Linked DNA regions of Homo sapiens: regions 2 and 3 are each linked to region 1. The links are contacts of gene promoters, found by promoter capture Hi-C in blood cells and fetal thymus (Javierre and others, 2016). All regions are on one chromosome and are shown on one strand. Each heading gives the region's core, a stretch centred on a gene start or on the middle of the fragment in contact. The rest is flanking DNA. Distances are from core to core; before and after follow the strand shown. Region 1 holds the start of DYNLT3 (dynein light chain Tctex-type 3). Region 2 has its middle 67 kb from the start of LANCL3. Region 3 holds the start of LANCL3 (LanC like family member 3).

Region 1 (3,213 bases), core at 311-2,810:
AAATACAAAAATTGGATGGGTGTGGTGGCGGGCGCCTGTAGACCCAGCTACTCGGGAGGCTGAGACAGGAGAATTGCTTGAACCCAGGAGGTGGAGGTTGCAGTGAGCTGAGATCACACCACTGTTCTCCAGCATGGGTGACAGAGCGAGACTCCATCTCAAAAAACAATAAAATAAAATAAAACAAAACAAAATATTCTTCTTTTAACAGTAAGGTTTCTAAGTTTGTGCTGAAACTCAAAATATAGCTTTTAAAAATCTCCACCAGTGCAGCAAGCTTCAAGAGAAACAAAATGTATGACTCACCTCTTTGACAATATTGTGGGCTTCCTCAGCATTGAAGCCAACCTAAAGGGAAAACAAAAGGTAAAGCTGCTTTCAACACAGGCTTACAAGTATGACGCTACACAGAATATCCTAGGCTGGCCTAGACAGGTGTTAAAGTGTTAAAGGGCATCAGGTCTACAGAAGGGGCCAATCTTGCCCCTAAACACTTAAAAATACTGAATGCTTTCCCTACCTACCTCCCGTGAGGTCTGGGGCAGAGCCTGCAAGTCTACATTTTTTTTTAAAAAAGTGCTTTATACTGGTGATTCTAATGAACATCCTAGATTAAGAATCATTGTATTGTAAAACGTAGGAAATAAGCAAGAGGTGACTATGAGGATGTTATGTGTCATAAGAATATAGAAATGGTTTCAGCTAAGTGAGAGAATGAAGTGGTCCATATGAAGAGAATGCTTAGTAGACTATTTTCAATTTTGTTTTTAACTTATGCTAGGCAAAAATTTCTAGGCAAAAATTCCTTTCCCAAATTAAAGATTATGAAAATACTTGATAACTCAAGATTAATATCACTTTAGTACTATAAAGTGGTCTGACAACTTAGTCTTTTCTTTGGAGTCCCCATCAATAACAGGGAGATAACAACTGACATCATGGGTTTCTGGTGAGGGTTGGGAAAGCCTGAGTCAGTAAGCAAGGGCTCGTAATCCATAAAGCACCTCCTTGCCTAATCCTGGCAAGCATTACCGGGAGCGGGAATGGCAGTGCCACCAGGACCCCGAGACTCCGAGCCATGGGGGCTGCAGCACCCGCGCTGAGGAAGCCAAGGGACGGAGGCAGCAGCGGGAAGACCCGTTTTCGAGGCCCGCCCGGTAGGAGGGCGGCGCCCGTCACCCCATGCCCACTCCTCGCACCCAAGTCAGGCCTCGTCCTCCCAACCCTGCCCCGACCCCACCGTCTGATCCGCGCGCTCCTGGCCACCCCTCCCACCCCGAATCTCAGGACTTTGGGGTGGGGAGAACGGGTCGGGCGGGGCGGATCCCGGGCCCAGGGGAGAGGACCCGGGCTCGGAGGACGCCGCACCCCAACTCTTGGGACCGCCCTCGCTGGGAGACCACCCGGCAAGAGCCCCGCGCAGAGGAAGGCGGGAGTGGGGGGCGCTCCCAGGTAGCCAAGGGGCGGTACCTCGTCGCAGTGGCGATGGTACTCCTCCATGGTAGCGCCGGCTCTCCCTGGGGCGGAGCGACACGCCGGTAGAGCACCGCGGCCGCGCACTGGCCTCCGGGGAGGCCCCACCCCCGTTTATGGCCTAGGGCCTTTCCCTACGCAATCCCCGCCTTTGTGTCGCAGTGGCGTCACCTGGCAGCGCTGGGCGGGCTTCGGGCAACGCCAGGCGTCACTTCAGGCCACGCACTTTTTCCTCGCTTCCTCTGCCCTTTCTGGAAACAAGGGATGAATGTAAAGAACTGGGAATGGCGCCAGTGTGGATCAGATGGGGTGACCTAGTGGCAGTTAGTCTAGACTCCGCACTAGTGGTTGAGTGCCCACTGCTGTGATTACTTGCACGTATTTGTTCATTCACCATCATGTGGCACATAAATGTAGTTAATTTCGTGGTAAACCAGCCACTTTGATTTGTCCACTTACTAGCTATGTTACTTGGAAAAATTCACCTCCCACAGCTTCAGTTTTCTCATATGGAAACTTACCATCATACCTATTTCACTACTGGTTGTAAGGATCTGATGAGAAGCTGTATACACGGCTCCTAAAGTAGATGCTTCTCAACAAGAGAACAATGACTACATTTTAAAATAAATGTAGTAATTTTAAATTAGTAATTTTAAAATAAATGTAGTAATTTTAAATTAGTAATTTTAAAATAAATTACTAATTTCCAGATGATCCTAGACACTTCCTCAAAACCTCACAATAAGTCAGAGGAGTTAGTTCTTCCATCACTGCTTTTATCAAGATGAAACTGAGGTATAGAGAATTTAATTTGCCCAAGGTCATACAGCCAGTAGGGTGTAGAAAAGGGACTTGAGCTCAAGTAGTCTGATAGCAGAGCCCAAGCTCTTAACCACTGTATTACTTTCCTATTGCTACTGTAACAAATTACCGTAAATGTAGTGCCTTAAAGAAACACAGTCCTGTTCTCTTACAGTTCTGTTACCAGTGTAGGGTGTCCAGGTTCTTGGCTCTTTGAACAAAGAATTGGACAAAACGCACAAACAAAGCAAGGAAAGAATGAAGCAACAAAAGCAGAGATTTATTGAAAACGAAAGTACACTCTACAGGGTGGGAGCGGGCAGAGAAGCCGCTCAAGGGCCGGGATCCAGAATCTTCTCTGGTCCAAATACCCCCTAGAGATTTCCCATTGGCCACTTGGTGTGCACCCCATGTAAATGAAGTAGTGGCCCACAATCAGAGGCTGAAGTTACAAAGGCCACACTCCTATGCAAACGTCTGATTGGTTGCAAGAAAGCAACCATCAGAGGCTAAAGTGAAGTTACAAAGTTGCACTTCTATTCAAACAAAGATTTGGCCCATAATCAGTTTGATTGGTTGCAGACAGCAACCAATCAGAGGCTGAAGTGAAGTTACAAAGTTCCACTCCTGTGCAAATGTCTGATTGGTTGCTTTTTGCTCTTTGGTTGCAAAAAGCAACCAATCAGAGGTACTTTAAATTTCCCATCTGCCCTGCAGAAAAGGTGGGGATTTGCAAAGGGAATAGCCTCTGGTCCTTTTGTTACTTAGGCATGGAAGGTATGGAAGGTTAGGGTTTTCCTTTTTTTTTTTTTTTTGAGACGGAGTTTCACTCTTGCTGCCCAGGCCGGAGTGCAATGGCGCGATCTCGGCTCACCCACGGCAACCTCCGCCTCTCGGGTTCAAGCGATTCTCCTGCCTCAGCCTTCTGAGTAGCTG
Region 2 (3,213 bases), core at 371-2,870, 340 kb before region 1:
CTAGGTGGTGCCCCAGTGGGAACTCTGTGCATGGGCTCCTATGTCACATCTCCCCTCCGCACTGCCGTGCCACTGCAGCAGACTTCTGCCTGGACACTCAGGCTTTTCCATTCATCCTCTGAAATCTAAGTGGAGGCTGCCAAGCGTCCTTCAGTCTTGCACTCTGCACACCTGCATGCTTAATGCCACGTGGAAGTCACCAAGGCTTTGACTTGCACCCTCTGAAGTAGCATCTGGGGCTGTGTCTGGGGTCATCTGAGCTGAGGCTGGAGCTGGAGCAGCCTGGATGCAGGGAGCAGTGTCCTGAGGCTGCACAGGTTACTGGGGCACAGGTTAGTGAGATTTTGCAGGGACATATATTCAAACTATACCAGAGGCCTAGAGGTAGGAAGATGACATATTCAATGTGCTGAAAGAAAAATACTGCTGATGAAGAATTCTACATTCCACAATGTATCCTTCAAAGAAATCAAAAAATAAGTCATCCCAAGATAAACAAATTTCAACAGTGATTCTCACTAGTACACTTGCTCTGCAGGAAATGCTAAAGGGACTTTACTGCTGAAAAATAAACTGACAAATTAGGAATTTCATAGGGTTCAAACTTAATATATCCATAAACTTCATGTAGAAAAAAAAGTATCAAATACTTAAGTATAATGACTAAATAGTGTTGCCAATCATGATATTTCTAGAAAGTATGCCATAGGATACCCATTTCATGAAAAATAAAGAGCTGAACTTTTTATGGTACATTTTTCACAAATCCATAACCATTAGGAAGCACTCCTTTATACAGGACTTGTACTCTTGGAACAGCAATAGGAATCTCCGAAGAACCAGTACTCCTGGGATCAATTTATGGCTAGATTAGTTTCGCAAGTCACCTTCTTCATATTTACAAAGGCAATCTTCAAGTTCTTTTTGTTTTTCCTTAACAAATCAAACATAAAAGCAACTTGAAAAAGTACTTTAGTAGTTCCATGTTGTCTTGTATGTAACTCTGCCATTTTATTTTTCTAATCAAAATGGAAGAAAGCATAACTTGTGCTCTTCTGCTGAATGCAGTGCTTTGCTCTTTAAAGCTGTGTCTCACATAACTGCTAGTTGACATAAAGCATTCTCTCAACAAAAACCATTTACTCAGAATAAAATACAGACACTCTTTCTTTCTTTTCCTCTTCTTCTTGTGTGTGTTTTTTTTTTTGAGGGGACATTGTCCATATGTTATTCAAAGTTCCAGGCTCCTTCTCCAAAGTGGATATGTCATATTGTAGGGTCTGTTCCTCTTCTTGAGACATGGATTGCACACGGTGTGTCCTATAAACTAGGCCTTATTTGGCCATACACCAGTTATTTTCATATTCCAATAGCCAGAAATCAGTACAAGACCCCATCAAATCACAAGGGTAGCTAAAAAAATATGGTTACTTGTGGACCAAGATGAAAACAAATAAGCTTTGATGAAGTCACTCTGCCACAGCGAGTTTCTCTAATTGGAAGATTTGAAAAGTACTAGCAAGTTCATTTTGCTACAGACGTAAGCTTGCTCTTCAGTGAGCTGAGTCCCATGTCTACTAATTGGTTTCAAATTCAGCAGGGAAGACACGGGGATTAGTTATTGAGTCCCCAAAACCGTGAACATAGAGGACTTTTCCAGGTAAATTTTAAAAACAGAGTCTTTACTCTGGTGTTTAAGCTTTGATCCTGAAAACATATCTGAAATCACATTCCTTGTCATGTGGAGACATCTCTCCTGCAGAAAGAATTAAGCTTCCGGGTGCAGCAGACATGGGTGAGCATTTAAAGGGAAGCTGACATCTACCTAGAAGACAGATCCACTAACATATTCCAGTGCCAGAGAAATGCCATGCTTTGGGCATTTAGAATAGTTCCTACTCTGCCTGGGAGCTCTATACCTTTATCTCCAAAGGAGATGAGCACTCCCTAATTGACACACTCCACCCTCCTGTTCATGGGAGAATCCTATTGGTCACCCAGACTCACAGCTGTGCATTCGATCCATGCTCATCACCGAGGCTAACCCAGTCCTTGATTCCAATCATGAATGGACAAACGTTTTCCAGATATTTAAGGAAAGTGAGGAAGATGCACAAATAGAACTAATTCTGGAGGAGGGAAAAAGAGGATATAATACAGGAAACAGAAAAAAACGTTACCAGAACATACTCTCAGAGTTTAAGAAAGACAAGAGGTTTATAAAATGAGAACAAGCTGTCATAGAGGGGAATAATCAGGGGGCAGACGAAAAAGTCCTTGGACACTAGAAAAGTTACTGCAGAATTGACATCACGCAGTGGACTGACAGTGCCTAGTTCCCTGGGCTGCCCACGGAACTCAGTGTGCCCCCCCTCGCCACCACCACCATCCACCCGACGGCGCGCGCCCCTCCACCCATACGGGTCCCCACAGCCCACTTCCGGTCCCTTCGCAGACCCTGTGGCAACCACCACCGCCTGGTCCCGAGGACCCTGCCCTCCACTGGTCGCCTCCGTCGTCCACCATGTTGTGCTCAGAGGCACCCGCCGCGGCCGCCACTGCCGATGCCGATGCCGCCGCCCGCTTCGGGACCCTAGCGACCACACCGCTTTACCCTGCCTGCTCCTCGCGCCCGCACTGCCCGCCCTGGGCCCGCTGTCGCAGGTGCACCAGAACAACCATCTCAGCTGCGAGGTCGCCATCAACATCAAGGTCACCCTGGAGCTCCACGCCTCCTATGTGTACCTGTCCATGGCCTTCTTCTTCGACCGGGACGACGTGGCCCTGGAGAGCTTCAGCCGCTATTTCTTGCACCAGTGGCACGAGAAGAGGGAGCACGCCCAGGAGCTGATGAGCCTGCAGAACCTGCGCGGTGGCCGCATCTACCTTCGCGACATCAGGAAGCCAGAGTGCCAAGGCTGGGAGAGCGGGCTCCAGGCCATGGACTGCGCCTTCTACCTGGAGAAGAACGTCAACCAGAGCCTCCTGGAGCTGCACCAGCTGGCCAAGGAGAACGACGACCCCACCTCTGTGACTTCCTGGAGAACCACTTCCTGAACCAGCAGGCCAAGACCATCAAAGAGATTGGTGGCTACCTGAGCAACCTGTGCAAGATGGGGGCCCCGGAAGCAGGCCTGGCAGAGTACCTCTTTAACAAGCTCACCCTGGGCCGCAGCCAGAAACACACCAGAGCCCAGACAGGTCCCGCAGCCA
Region 3 (3,213 bases), core at 219-2,718, 280 kb before region 1:
TCCTTTAACATATCAAGCTCCCTGCCTAAAAGTGGACTTTTATCATTATTATTATTATTAAAAATAAACCTGTTTTGGCAGCATCAAAGGGGGACGATGGCCATACTGTCCTTGAACTATGTGGATGTGTCAGTCCTGGCAATCATGTTGGCAAACTAAGGTTCTTTCCCAGACTACATCAAGTAAGGGTGGAGGGGCAGGGTATTTAATATCTGCTTCCCAATCATGGTGACATTTAACACTTCTGAGGAAAAAAAAATGCCTCCAAACTGGCCTTTCAAGTAAGTGGAGTAGTTACTCTCCCCACAAAGTATCAGAAACTGTTCTATGAGCCACTTACTCCTTTATGTCTTGCACAGTCCCTATCAAAAGTCAAATACTCCTGGGAGACGTGACCTCTTTAGTCTTCAAGAGTCAACACTTTGGGAAAGGCAGAATTATTTCAAACAGCTGAGCACAAGAAAGGCAACTAGCTTGTGTAATTGTTCATTTTCTGTTTTTTCCTACTGAATTGTAAGCTACAAGGGGTCTAGGACCATGTCTATCTTATTCATCCCTCTATTTCCAGGTTTCAGGACACATAGGAGACCCTCCACAACGCCCTTGGGAAAAAAGCAGAAGAGGACAAACATGGGAAAAGAAGGGAGGGAAGGGGGAGATAAAAAGCCTAATTAAATTCTCACAGAGCGTTTATCCTAATATTAACTAGTTAATGACCTCAAGATATGTATTGAGCTTTTACTATGCACGCATGGCAGGAGGGGCGTGCCCCTTCCTTGCCTTAACCTGGTGTGGTTCTTTGACTTTTTACTCCTGTATACTCGAAGAAAACAATACAAAAATCAAAGCTGGGAAAAAAGTTCCTGTATGGGGTATTTCACCGTTTTAATGCATTAAACATGATGTGCTCAAATGCCCCAGCCTTTGGGATTGAAACATTCATAATGAGAACTCCGAAGCGACCAAGATGAAATACAAACTTCAAAGAAGGCGCCCAGTTTTGTCTTGCTACTCTAGCCTAGTTCAGTGGCGCCTCAAACTTTAATGTGCATGCGAATCACCTGGCAATCTTGCTGAATATTCAGATTTGGAGTCAATAGGTCTGGAGTGAAGCCTGAGATGCTGCGTTTTTAACATGCCCCCGGGTGATGCTGATGCTTCTAACCCAAGGACCACACTTTGAGTATACAAGGGACTGGAGACCATCACCTCTACCGCCAGGTGTGTGTATGCTGAGTCCCAGCGTTCCAGATCAGTGTCCCGCACGTCCTCGGCCTTCTGCCAGTAGGGGAGGAGTCGGGGGCGGAGCGGGAGGAGTGGCGCGGGCCCCGCGTGGGTCCTGCCAGAGATCACCTCGGCCCCTTGAAGAGGCAGCCAAGCTGCGGCGGCGCAGGAGGGGGCGGGTTCAGCGAGGGCGCGGCCTCTGAGGGGGGGCGCAGGACACGCATCCCCCGCGATCGCCCGGGCCACTCGGGAGCCTCGCGGCAGCCCGGCGCCCCACTTGGCCATCCGCTCCTTGCCCGCCTCCTCTTGTCACCTCCCGTCTCATCCTTCTCGCTCCTTCCCCGCCGCATACACCGGCATCCGAGTGCCTCAGAGAGCCGGAGGTGGTGTGCGGGGCTGCAGGGCACGACTTCAAGCGGTCCTCAGCTCCGCACTAGGGGGCACGGGCAACAGCATGGACACCAAGCGCTGCTTCGCCAATCGCTTCGATGACTACCAGGGCAGCCTGCTGGCGGGCCAGTGTGAGGAGGCGGTGGCGCCCTTGGTCACCGCCACCATCGAGCGCATCCTCCAGGAGCTTCCCCCACTCGGGGGCGGCGCGGAGGCCCGAGGGGCGACGGCGGGGGCTAGCGCCTGCCAGGGGGGGCTTTATGGCGGCGTGGCCGGAGTGGCGTATATGCTCTACCACGTCTCGCAGAGCCCGCTTTTCGCCACGGCCCGGGAACGCTACCTGCGCTCGGCTAAGCGCCTCATCGACGCGTGCGCCCGCGCTGAGGAGTGGGGCGAACCGGACGCCGACACCCGCGCCGCCTTCCTGCTCGGGGGCGCGGGCGTGTACGCCGTGGCCACGCTCGTATACCACGCCCTGGGCCGGTCCGACTACGTGCAGCCGCTGGGCAAGTTCCGGGCTCTGTGTGCCGTCTGCGCGCCGGTCTCCTTCCTGGAGTGCGGCTCCGACGAGCTGTTCGTGGGCCGCGCGGGTTACCTGTGTGCCGCGCTGGTGCTCAAGCAGAAACTCGCCCAGGAGGTAAGAGGTAGCCCGGGCCGCGGGAGGGCGCTCGCCGCCTGCCCGGCCTCCTTTCCCCGGACTCCGTGGCTCGGGCAGCACTGTCCCGAGTTGCTCTCCAAGTCTTTGTTACTCTTGGTGTGGTGCTAGCATTTCTTCAGTCCCTTGAGGTCTATCTCCTGCTTTTGTCCCTCTTCTTTCCTGTCGTTTTCAGTCTCTCATTTGTTGAGATTCGGCGTCTCTGCGCTTTGTTCGTGTTTTTACGTGGCATCACTCCAGATGCCTGTTAGCTTTCTGGGGGATGACAGTGTGGCCCTTTCAAGTAAGATGAAAACCTCAGAAATGGAAGGGATTTCCTTTCCTTTGACTCTGCTGTCAAAAGCTGAGGCATCCTCGAATGTTAGAGTGCTAGAAAGTAATGGAACTTTTCGGGGCCGATGTGGAGGTAAGTTGCTTCTGGAGCCCTGGGTCTGTAACCAAGAATAACTGCTCAGCTGTGGGTCTGATGTGTTTACTGTTTTGCTTACTATTCAGTTCAACCCATGGCTCTTATTAAATGCATATCTGATAGGAGTGTCCCCTTTAAAAATACATAAATGTAGACGGAAACGTACCCGGAAATGTACCCCATTGTGGTTGAATGTGCATTATTTCACTTAAAAATATTTGCTTAGGATGGGCAAGACCACAGCTTTCTTGACAGGGCAGCTTTTCTTGATGAATAACTTTACAGTGGCTCCTAAAAGTGAATTGGTTTTCACATACATATTTTTTCCTGGACTCACTTTGAAATCAGCATGTGGTTATTAGAAGAGAATATGCCAGTTCCTGTGGAGTAGGAAAAAGAACAAAACTCTGAAGGATCATAGTGACTAGAACGGAGAGAGAGGCACTTTCATTCATAATCCCCTGGAGCCAACTACTGTTCTAGGGAGGAAGTGACACATTTAACTTGGCTTTATTTAGGTGAGAAAGGCGTTTGA

The links. The method cuts DNA at HindIII sites, captures the fragments that hold promoters and counts their contacts. A CHiCAGO score of 5 or more calls a contact.
Region 2: a contact is called between a fragment that was not itself captured here and the fragment with the promoter of DYNLT3 in region 1, in 3 of 17 cell types (M1 macrophages, total B cells and naive B cells). The highest score is 6.7, in M1 macrophages.
Region 3: a contact is called between the fragment with the promoter of LANCL3 here and the fragment with the promoter of DYNLT3 in region 1, in 6 of 17 cell types (megakaryocytes, erythroblasts, M2 macrophages and 3 more). The highest score is 11.1, in megakaryocytes.

Annotation. Positions count from the first base shown.
Region 1 is chrX:37,846,011-37,849,223 of GRCh38, forward strand. It overlaps DYNLT3 (dynein light chain Tctex-type 3), which reads right to left and starts at 1,561. Exons shown (of 5, transcript NM_006520.3): 1 at 1,471-1,561; 2 at 307-348. The coding sequence starts at 1,500. RefSeq lists a silencer at 1,225-1,334. The HindIII fragment of the contact is 5,769 bases long and covers 276-3,213 here.
Region 2 is chrX:37,502,676-37,505,888 of GRCh38, forward strand. It overlaps the pseudogene FTH1P27. Among named protein-coding and RNA genes, the nearest start is that of LANCL3, 67 kb to the right of the region's middle. The HindIII fragment of the contact is 154 bases long and covers 1,544-1,697 here.
Region 3 is chrX:37,570,193-37,573,405 of GRCh38, forward strand. LANCL3 (LanC like family member 3) reads left to right here and starts at 1,469. Exons shown (of 5, transcript NM_001170331.2): 1 at 1,469-2,251. The coding sequence starts at 1,679. The HindIII fragment of the contact is 8,836 bases long and covers 1-3,213 here.